Linked DNA regions of Homo sapiens: region 2 is linked to region 1. The links are contacts of gene promoters, found by promoter capture Hi-C in blood cells and fetal thymus (Javierre and others, 2016). All regions are on one chromosome and are shown on one strand. The core of a region is centred on a gene start or on the middle of the fragment in contact, and the rest is flanking DNA. Distances in the headings are between cores, read along the strand shown.

Region 1 (5,631 bases), core at 904-3,403:
TGAAGTCATCTAGTGGTGTTTTTCCTCTAAAGTAAGGTATGGCTTACTTTAAGCTTTATGGCTTTAAGGCTGTGCTCTTTCAGTTCCTCTAATACGCCTTTGTTTACCAGTGTGTCCTCAATGCCCATTACAACAGGTGGAATATATTTTGCTCTTAATAAACATATATTGGTATGTCCATTTCTCTAGTCATTGGAAACATCTAAGCAAGGTATTTTAAGGGAATGAGGTTTGATATTACTAATAATAGTGTTCTTCTGTCAAGCTAACAAAGACCAATTTTTAAAAATCAATCCAAAGAATGTAATTCCAATCTCCAAAAATAAATGGCAGCAAAAGTCGAAACACCAATTTATATAGGTTAAGAATTTTTAACATCTGTTTAGTTGCAAAATCCAGGGACTAAGATTTTTTTAATTACATCTGATAAAGATGTAGTCACTGACTTATATCACTACTAATAACAAATAAGGAGCTTTTGTGTTCCTACCACTGCTCTTACTGGCATTGCAGTTGACTTTACTGTTTTTAGCTTCCTGAGTAAACCATTTTTCAAAAAATAGCCAATAGCTAAGGACTATCTGCAAAGGAGATTACTTAGATAATCCCAAACACTGTGTGTACATAAGTCAAATGGAGGGGGTGTATCAATGAAGGTTTGTGTTACCTTTCTCTGAAAGAGCCCTTGATTATTGAAAAATTAAGATTGGATCTGGTGTTCCAAGAAATAACATAAAGAACTTTATTTTTTAATAAAAGATTATAATCTTGATATAAATGGTTCTAACTGTATAGTTATATATCTCTGCTTGTGCAGTAGAGCAAGTTTCTACCTAGACTTTTTAGGGAGGCAAACATCTTTTCTAAACACCTTTAGTGCAACACCGCCACCTGGTGTGGTGAAGACAAGGAGAAAATTAGCTTAAGTTGAAAGTGCAGAATTCTGTGTTTGACACTCTGTAAGCATGAATGACCCAAATGAAGTGGTCACAAACACAATTAATTAAATACAACTGCTACATCATGATGCACAAATAAGGACTACATAAATATCTGCGTATGAACAGTTCAGAATAAAACAAAAGTGAACATCTTTAGTAATCACTGACTTATGTCACTACTAATAATAAAAAAGGAGCTTTAGTCAAAAGAAAACATAAAAAATACAAAGAGAAAGTATCGAAAAACACCAATGGGGCAGCACCAATAACTCTTAAAGGATTTATCGGGGGAAATTCACTCATAAGTGGCAGTTGAACAATGAGAACACATGGACACAGGGAGGGGAACATCAAACACCAGGGCCTGTCAGGGGGTAGGGGGCAAGGGGAAGGAGACCATTAGGAGAAATACCTAATATAGATAACGGGTTGATGGGTGCAGCGAACCACCATGGCAGGTGTATGCCTATGTAACAAGCCTGCATGTTCTGCACATGTACCCCAGAACTTATACTAATTAAAAAATAAACATAATAATAATCCAAACCAGCTATGCCCCCTTTCCTCTCCCTTCATGACAGCGTGCTAGTCTTGTTCATGTTAATATTCTCCTTGCCAGGCACAGTGCCTGGCATAATAATGATGATTGCATGAAACCTTTGGCAACAGCAAATAAAACTGCAATCATACACTGACACATGGAAAGGAACCATGCATTTATCTATATTAAAAACACAGTCTGTGATAAGAGTCATTACTTCACAGATGAGAGAAGGAATGCAAATGAAAAGAGACTCTATTTCAAACCTTAGATCACCAAGAATATCTGCTTTGCCTGCTGCAGGGTGCCTCAAAACCCATAAGCAAATCCTGTTCTCTTCGCCACCCCCACAGGTCCAGATGGGCATGCAAAACTGGATTGGGGAAATTGAGGCCCTGTTTTGTTTGCATCCGTGATGCTGTGCTATGGCCTTCTGGGAAGGCGGTTGTACAGGAACACCTGGATTTATTAATCTTGCATCACCCAAGAGGTAGAACCATCAGTCTTCCACCCTATGATAAGCTCTTACGTGTATCCAAGAGATGTTCTAGAGAAACAACATCCCTCTAAGTTTCCTGCCAGAACTTTTTATGCGCTCGCTTTGGGATAGATCTAGGCAAAGAGCTGGATGCTTTGTGAAGGAAAGGTCCTGGCTTGGAACGTACATTTACCTTTCTGCACTGGGTGGCAACCAGGTCTTTAGATTAGCCAACTAGAGAAGAGAAGTAGAATAGCCAATTAGAGAAGTGACATCATGTTGACTCTAACTCGCATCCGCACTGTGTCCTATGAAGTCAGGAGTACATTTCTGTTCATTTCAGTCCTGGAGTTTGCAGTGGGGTTTCTGACCAATGCCTTCGTTTTCTTGGTGAATTTTTGGGATGTAGTGAAGAGGCAGGCACTGAGCAACAGTGATTGTGTGCTGCTGTGTCTCAGCATCAGCCGGCTTTTCCTGCATGGACTGCTGTTCCTGAGTGCTATCCAGCTTACCCACTTCCAGAAGTTGAGTGAACCACTGAACCACAGCTACCAAGCCATCATCATGCTATGGATGATTGCAAACCAAGCCAACCTCTGGCTTGCTGCCTGCCTCAGCCTGCTTTACTGCTCCAAGCTCATCCGTTTCTCTCACACCTTCCTGATCTGCTTGGCAAGCTGGGTCTCCAGGAAGATCTCCCAGATGCTCCTGGGTATTATTCTTTGCTCCTGCATCTGCACTGTCCTCTGTGTTTGGTGCTTTTTTAGCAGACCTCACTTCACAGTCACAACTGTGCTATTCATGAATAACAATACAAGGCTCAACTGGCAGATTAAAGATCTCAATTTATTTTATTCCTTTCTCTTCTGCTATCTGTGGTCTGTGCCTCCTTTCCTATTGTTTCTGGTTTCTTCTGGGATGCTGACTGTCTCCCTGGGAAGGCACATGAGGACAATGAAGGTCTATACCAGAAACTCTCGTGACCCCAGCCTGGAGGCCCACATTAAAGCCCTCAAGTCTCTTGTCTCCTTTTTCTGCTTCTTTGTGATATCATCCTGTGCTGCCTTCATCTCTGTGCCCCTACTGATTCTGTGGCGCGACAAAATAGGGGTGATGGTTTGTGTTGGGATAATGGCAGCTTGTCCCTCTGGGCATGCAGCCATCCTGATCTCAGGCAATGCCAAGTTGAGGAGAGCTGTGATGACCATTCTGCTCTGGGCTCAGAGCAGCCTGAAGGTAAGAGCCGACCACAAGGCAGATTCCCGGACACTGTGCTGAGAATGGACATGAAATGAGCTCTTCATTAATACGCCTGTGAGTCTTCATAAATATGCCTCTGATTCTTCAGGAATACAACTCTGATTCCTCACAAAGCCTTCCAATTTCTTCTATAAAACACAATTGAAAGTCTCTCCACTTTGTATCAATGAACTCACTTATAGATGAATAAAATAATTAAGCACTATACATGGCCTAGGCAAGAATAATGTTGGTACCCTAGGTTTGTTTTGATAAAATGAACAAAATAATTAAGTATTTGGTGTAAATCCTTTATATACTATAGCTTATTATTGGTATAAATCAAACCATGAGAAATCATCTCTTCTGAAATAATATCTAAATCCCAAGATAATATGTTTGGCTTTTAACATGACTGTTAAACCTCTTTCTCGGAACTTGTGCTAGCATCATTTTTGGAAATATTCACTACTACAATAAGGATATAATCCTCTTCAAACTTCGCAATTTTCATGGAAACAAAGACAAACTTGGAATGATAATTATGTCATAATTCCAGCTTCAAGAGGTACCACATAACTTCAACTTCAAGAGGCACGAGAGGATAGGGGTCGTTTTGTCTGAAAATACACTGATCCAGAAATGCACTTTTACCTACTCTATAATGATGGAAGAGAAGCAGATATTTGCTCAGTAGGTGACCTGGATGCCAGTAGGTGCCCTGTGTGGGCTTTCTGGCTATGCCCAATTTGCCTTTGAAGATGGTGCTTTGCCTGGTACCAAGTATTGGTCTCTCTGGTTGGAGACCCTACCAAAATCACCTAGCTGAAAGGTAAATTTGTAGAGATTTGGCATTGTCTGTATTCCTGCACAGGAACCCAGCCAGGAAGGCTTTCCTCAAATCAGGTACTGAAAGACTCAGGAGAAAACAAGGTATACCAGACATTTAAATCTTGATAGGCTTCGTGGTTCACAGGCTTCACAGTTGTAGCAGCTCACCACCAAGGCTCTTAGTTCTGCCAGCTGTGGGGCCAGAGAACTGTTTCCTCCTCTCAGGCACTTGGTCTTAATAGATCCAGATCTTCACCTCAGTTTTCCTCCAAAAATTAGCCATTTCTTCACCTGCAGTGGCTACAAAATTTGCAACTTCATCTGGCTTCCTTTCCTTGGTGGACACTGAAGTTGTCCCAGGATTCCCTTAAAGACCTAGGTCCTCGCTCTTGGCTGCACATTGAAATTATCTAAGGGGCTTTTTAAAAATCTCAATGTCCAGGCCAAATACAACCAATCAAATCAAATCTCTTGAGATGAAATGAGGCTTTTATTCTTTAATGCTCCTCAGGTGATTTCGGGGTGCAGCCAATGTTGAGATCCACTCTTCTAGATGCCCTGTTGGTGTAGAGGTGGAGCATCTTTTCATATGTTTATTTGTATGGCTTTATTTTTAACATTATGTTTCTGAGATTCACCCATAATATTATATGAGTCACTGCTTGCTTACCTACTCACTATTGCTGAACATTTTCCATTGCCTACAGTGTGGGGCTACTATGAATAAAGTTTCTATACACATTCTTGAATCCATTTCTTTGTAGGCATAGGTTCATTTCTCAGGTAAATACCTAGGAGTGAAATTACTGTGTTAAAAAATTTATATTCATTTAACTTTATAAAAACTGTTAAAGAGTTTTCCAGAGTGATTCTGACATTTTATGCTCCCCTCAATAATGTAGGAGAGCTGTTCCACATTCCCACCAACATTTGGTGTTGTCAGTCTTTTTGATTTTGGCCATTCTAGTGGGGATGAAATGGTATCTCATTGTGGTTTCCATTTGCATTTGTCTTCTAACTGATGATATGGAGAACAATTTTGTGTGCTTCTTGGCTATTTGTATTTTTTCTATTATAAAGTAACTATTTGTTTGCCCATTTTAATATTGAGTTATCTTTTTATTATTGATTTATAAGAGTTTATTGATTTGTAGCATTTGTGTATGTGTGATAATATACATATATGTATTCTTATCCAACTCCTATATATACACAACTGTTTTATATTGTCTTTTTATTATTGATTTGTAGAAATTTATTGATTTATGTGCATGTATATATACATACATATATGTATATATGTATGTGAAAAATATATATATATATAACATATACACTCTGGATACAAGTCCTTTGTCTGATATATGCATTGTGAATATTTTGACCCAGACTGTGGTTTTCCTTTTTATTTTTTAATAGTGCGCTGATAAGCAGAAATGATGACTTTTAATAAAATCTAATGTCATTTTTTTCTACAATGTTTGTGCTTTTTGTGTCTGCTATAAAAAATATCTGCCTGCCTCTGACATGCAAAAACAGTTTCTATGATTTTCTCTAGAATTTTCATAGTTTTTACTTTGATGTTTGGGACTATAATTGAT
Region 2 (5,603 bases), core at 686-3,185, 840 kb before region 1:
TTGCATTGGGGTACACATGATTAATTCAGGGGTTTCTCAGACAATTCATGCTTGTCTCCCTTTCCTTTTCTCCCCGGGTAGTGTCTAAATTCCAGGGTGCTTATAAAAGCGCTTGTCAAAGCATTGTGGGGAAGGTACTTGGTCTTTGGTCATCATTTAACTTTCCTTCATGACTCTCATTTGCACCATCATCAGCACCTGTCCCCACTGATATCTGCTGATCCTCGGTGTGTCTGTCTGTCTGTCCTTCAGGTTGTTTTGATCCACGGCGGGTACACTGTGCCTTACACATTTCAAACACGATGTCTCTTCAGGCTTGATGGCTTCTCTCAGTTAATCTGTTTCCCTGTGAATGAGAAAATGGCTATTCCTGATCTATCCTGAGATCTTTGGGGATTCTTGGAGACTACCTCAGGTCCCTCTGTTAAGACACATTCTAGAGCCATGTATGTTTTCCACTGCTGCTCTAATAAATTACTACAGACTTAGTGGCTTAAAACAACACAAACTTATTATCTTACAGTTCTGTAACTCTGAAGTCTGACACAGGTTTCACCGAGTTAAAATCAAGCTGTCAGCTAGGCTGCATTCTTCCCTGAGGGCTCTAGAAGAGAACCCATTTCCTTACCTTTCCTAGCTTCTAGAGGCCACCTTCATTCCTTAGCTCATGCCCCCTTCTACCTCCAGGGCCAGCAGCATGGCATCTCTCTTGCCTGCTTCCATGTCCACATCTCTTTCTTTGACTCTCTTCTGCTTCCTTCTTCCATGTTGAAGATGCTTGTGATTGTATGGGGCACACCTGATTAATTCTGACTACTCTCCCTGTTCTAAGGGCATCCAATTAGAAACCTTAATTCCATCTTCAACCTTAATTCCCCTTTGCCATGTAATCTAACACATGCACAGATTCTGGGGATTAGAATGTGGACATCCTTGGGAGCCATTATTCTGCTGACCACAAGTCATTTCTACTTACCAGTCTCTAGCCAGTATGACATGTAGGGACCCAGGACCTTGTTCGTCTCATTCTGGAAATAAGCACAATTTTCCTCTGCCGTCAAAACTTTTGAATTTCCATTTCTTCTCTCTCCACCTCTCTCTCATCCCTTTCCTTGATCAGGATGTGGATAAGAAGAGGTAAGTCACAATTCAGGGCATTCAGGAGCATCTAATTGGCTGACTCTCCCTTCTTTCCATTAGCCCAGGTAATTTTTAACTCTTCTGTAGAGGAACAAATAGGCTTTGCAAGTATCTTCCATTCCTATTATATAGGAATATATACCAGTTTTAAAATTAAAAAGACGAGTTAGTTCTTATTGCCATTCTCTTCATGTATAAAGCTTTCTCTTGTTGGCAGCAATTCATTAAGAATCTAGTATGGAGGGAAAAAGCTGAAGATGGTAACAAAAAGACTTGAAAAGAGGCTTGCCAGAGAGGTGGACACGTTAAGATGACCAGGACATGTTAAGATGACAGTTCCAGCCAGCTTTCAATTCCGTAGGGCACCTCCAGACCCAGGCCAGATGTGCGGCCAGGACTCTCCCATTAGTAGATCTACTGCCACAGAGCAGAGGGATCATATCCCCATCCTCTTTTCAATACATGAATGACTTAAATGATTGAATAACTAAACAGTATTGCAGATGGGGATGGAGATTGAGGAGATTTTTTTAAAGGCATCAGCCATATGGAAGGAGCTTCCAGCTACTGAGCTGTGACAATGATCAGGAGCCAGGAGCCAGCTGGTTACTCTGATCTGACTGATACATCTCTTCACCCTCCAATCTGCTGCAGCATCTCTAAGAAGGAGGATTACATTGCTGTCTACATGTGGTAATGACACTGAGCTGATGCAGCTGATGAGTGAAGTCAGGTCTCATAGGATACGCTGGTGTTAAAGACTGCCAGCCAGAGGAAAACGTGATGCGGTACCCTTGAGAACAAGAGCAATTCTCATTCTTTCTCCCTGTATCTCCCACCACCCACTGTCCACTTTCTCTCCACCCCATCCCCACTCAGGACTAAATAAAAATTTCAAAAGCAAAGAGGAAAGAGAACAGAAATGGAAAGAAAGGGAGGAATAGGCTATGTGTGCACATATTTATTTTGGCTTCACTCTCTGCAATCCTAACATGCACAGATATTATATTATCAGATTTATTAAAAACTGAGATTGAACAACTGTTCAATGAAAACTGCTCTTGCGTTGGCTATAGCTATTTTTCATCATATGTTCCAAATGTTCACTGCAAGCAAACTATATTTACCACTTGATTTATCATTTAAATAAATGTTATAAGAGGATTAATTCCATTTTGAAATGATAAAAAACAAAACATTCCCCTATACATATGGTGTATTCAAATGCAAACAAAAAAATGTGCTACAGCCAAAACTGTCAGAAGCAAGAACCCCAACATTAACTTGGAATTGTGTTACTGTAGCATCAGCAACAACAACAAACATATGACATCACTAGGCCCTGATGAAATGGGAAAGTGTTACAAATGCTTTATTTGCTTAAAGCTTATTCTCCCTGTTCAGCCACTTTTACGGCTTTCTTTCCTGGGTTTTCATCTCAAACCGCTCCACCACATCCAACCCAAACTAAGTAATTGTTCTGAATATGAATCCTTCAGAATACAGAGCATGGCAAAGACAGAGGGAAGAGGAGTTTCCAAGGGTGTGCTGGTGTCCTCCAGGCATCTGAAGGTCTTTTGTCCCATTTCAGCAGAATGACATTTTAGCAGCTACCTAGCAGAGTCCCATGCTTAGCTATTATGAATCCTTACTATTATGAATTCGTGGCTTGACTGTGTTTTTTGTGGCTCGTGATCCCTTCAGCCCCTACCTTCCACCCCATGCCATTGTAAATCTCCCAATCTTTGCTGCAGACATAGGGAGTCAAAAAAAAAAAAAAAAAAAAAAAAAAAAAAAAGCCAACATATGTAAGAGTGCCTGCCTGCAGTGCACCAGGCAAAATGCATCTTTCAACAATTTTTAGATATTGTCATCATTATTTTCACTTTATAGATAAGAAAATTGAGAATCAGGGTTTGCTTGAGAGTTCCCAAGCCAGCAAGAAGCAGAGCTGTGAAATGAACCCAAATCCATATGATTCCAAGTCTCTGTGATGTTTCCTATTACTCATATTGCATTTAGAGGATAAATTAGATCTAGTTGGCCCATTAGAGACACATGGAGCAGATTCCAACTTTGATCAGTTCAGGAGTTAATTATGCCTGTCCAGGTCTCAAAATCTGTCTGCCAGGGATGAAGATTATGCAGGCGATCCCTTTGGCTGTCATAGAAGCTTCCTGCCCTCAGAACTGAGCATTTCTGCTTTGATTACCCCAAAATACCTGAATCTCTTGAGCCCTATCCTTTCATCTCCCAGGTAACATGTCTAGCTCTAGTTTCCAATTTCAGATAAACTAAAATCTTTTTTCATCCTTCTATCAGTATCACAGTTTCTCTGAAGCTTTCCCAGGCTTCTGATGTCTCCCGGGGGAGCTGGAGAGTTACCTTTAGTTTACAGGTAAATAATGAGTCATTAAATATATTTACATACCAGGATGTCAGCAGGAATGCAAAGAAGATAACAAGTGCAGAGTATAGCTGGTTCCCAGGGAGGCTGGGGGTGATTCACCACACTCTTAAAAGAAGACTAGCCTCATTTCCTCCCCAGCTCATGGGGTAGGATTCCTCTGCTCTGGCAGCAGATCTCCCAGAGGGAGCAGCCTGACCACATCACTGGCCCAGAAGAGGAGGCGTCTGTCCCCCAGACTAGCTGAAGGAAAGGCTGGCTTGGATGATGCTCTGCTCTCTCCTTGCCCTTCTCCTGGGCACTTTCTTTGGTGGGTGCCCTCCTCTCTGGCAAGCCTCTTTTCTCATCCTCACCCTCACCCCAATCCCGTGAATGCAGAGTCTGAGCTGTTGGTTTGACACTCTTGAGTCTATTCCTGATTGTCTGGAACAGATATGGGAATTTAGCCTTAGGGGCTGATCTGATGATTCTTAGTTCTCTCTATCTCCTGAGAAGGAGTTCGTTCTGTTGGTCTTCCCTGGCCCAGGGATGCTTTGCATCCTTGGCTCCCCCAGTCTACTCCCCATGATGGATTCCAGGTGCCTGTGTCATGCAAGAGCTTGAGCTGCCCCTCTGTCTGGGGAAGGCAAGCCAGGCTGGGGTGCTCCTCTGTAAATGGCACTTTATCTTTCCCACAGGGGTCAGATCTCAGACTATTCATCAATGGCCAGCGACCCTGGTGCAGCCTGTGGGCAGCCCGCTCTCTCTGGAGTGCACTGTGGAGGGAACATCAAACCCCAACCTATACTGGTACCGACAGGCTGCAGGCAGGGGCCTCCAGCTGCTCTTCTACTCCGTTGGTATTGGCCAGATCAGCTCTGAGGTGCCCCAGAATCTCTCAGCCTCCAGACCCCAGGACCGGCAGTTCATCCTGAGTTCTAAGAAGCTCCTTCTCAGTGACTCTGGCTTCTATCTCTGTGCCTGGAGTGTCACACTGAGCTGGGTGGGGCAGACATCTGTGCAAAAACCCCACCCTCTCCTGAGCCCTAACCATACTCCCCAGGGGCCTTCACTTAGGGACTGGGTGGAGGATATTTGTAAGTAGGTTTCTGACTGCTGGCCAATGTGAAAGCAATGGAATAAAGCGAGAATTCTACAAAAGACTCTACTAAGTTCTCAGGGAGAACAAAAAATTGTATGTGTGCAGAACCTGTGATTTGCCTGCACATAGTCAAGTTCTCAATGTATGGATGTCCCGGCCCAGGCTACCATACTCCAGCCCTCAAGGTGTGCTATACCTTGCCTGATTTTCTAGTCTTCCAAATTCTTCTATGTGTGCCGTGGGGAGGGGGTTTGTGCATATATGGCTGAGAGAAAGGATATACCTGTGGCAGGAGGTGAGCTGGTGAACAAACGGGAGGATGCCAACCCAGGTTACTTAATTGGTTAATTTCATCACCTGGAGAGTCTCCTGTCATTGATCTTTCTGCTGAGACTAGAAATTATGGGGAGGCTTAGACCTGAGGCTTTGAGTCAGGCAAAGAGGCAAGATGTTCAGGAGACTGTTCTCATTCGAGGCAGAAGTGTGGTTTTGTTAGTATAGGTAACATGCACTTAGGCCAGACGTGGTAGCTCATGCCTGTAATCCCAGCACTTTGGGAGGCTGAGGCAGGAGGATCACCTGAGGTCAGGAGTTTGAGACCAGCCTGGCCAATATGGTGAAACCTGTCTCTACTAAAAGTACAAAAATTAACCGGGCGTGGTGGCAGGCGTCTGTAATACTAGCTACTTGGGAGGCTGAGGCAAGAGAATCACTTGAACCTGGGAGGTGGAGGTTGCAGTGAGCCAAGATCATGCCACTGCACTCTAGCCTGGGTGACAGAGCGAGACTCTGTCTCAAAAAAAAAAAAAATAAAAATAAGCTTGCACTTAGAAATTTTGGTGATGTTTGAGGTTTTAAAAAATGTCCTGTTGTACTATCTTGTAGCCCTTCCTTTGTAGCAAAGACAGACAGATGGTGATCCAAGAGATACGCAAGAAGAGGACCGTGTGTGTAATGGTTGAGCTCTAAAAAAGA

Evidence for each region. The method cuts DNA at HindIII sites, captures the fragments that hold promoters and counts their contacts. A CHiCAGO score of 5 or more calls a contact.
Region 2: a contact is called between a fragment that was not itself captured here and the fragment with the promoter of TAS2R38 in region 1, in 2 of 17 cell types (fetal thymus and total CD4 T cells). The highest score is 8.4, in fetal thymus.

What each region holds. Positions count from the first base shown.
Region 1 is chr7:141,970,295-141,975,925 of GRCh38, reverse strand. It overlaps TAS2R38 (taste 2 receptor member 38), which reads left to right and starts at 2,153. Exons shown (of 1, transcript NM_176817.5): 1 at 2,153-3,295. The coding sequence starts at 2,237. The coding sequence ends at 3,238. The HindIII fragment of the contact is 7,298 bases long and covers 56-5,631 here.
Region 2 is chr7:142,811,499-142,817,101 of GRCh38, reverse strand. LOC105375541 (a long non-coding RNA gene) reads right to left here and starts at 2,905. Exons shown (of 2, transcript XR_001745392.2): 1 at 977-2,905; 2 at 1-346. It also overlaps TRB and TRBV30. The HindIII fragment of the contact is 1,186 bases long and covers 1,343-2,528 here.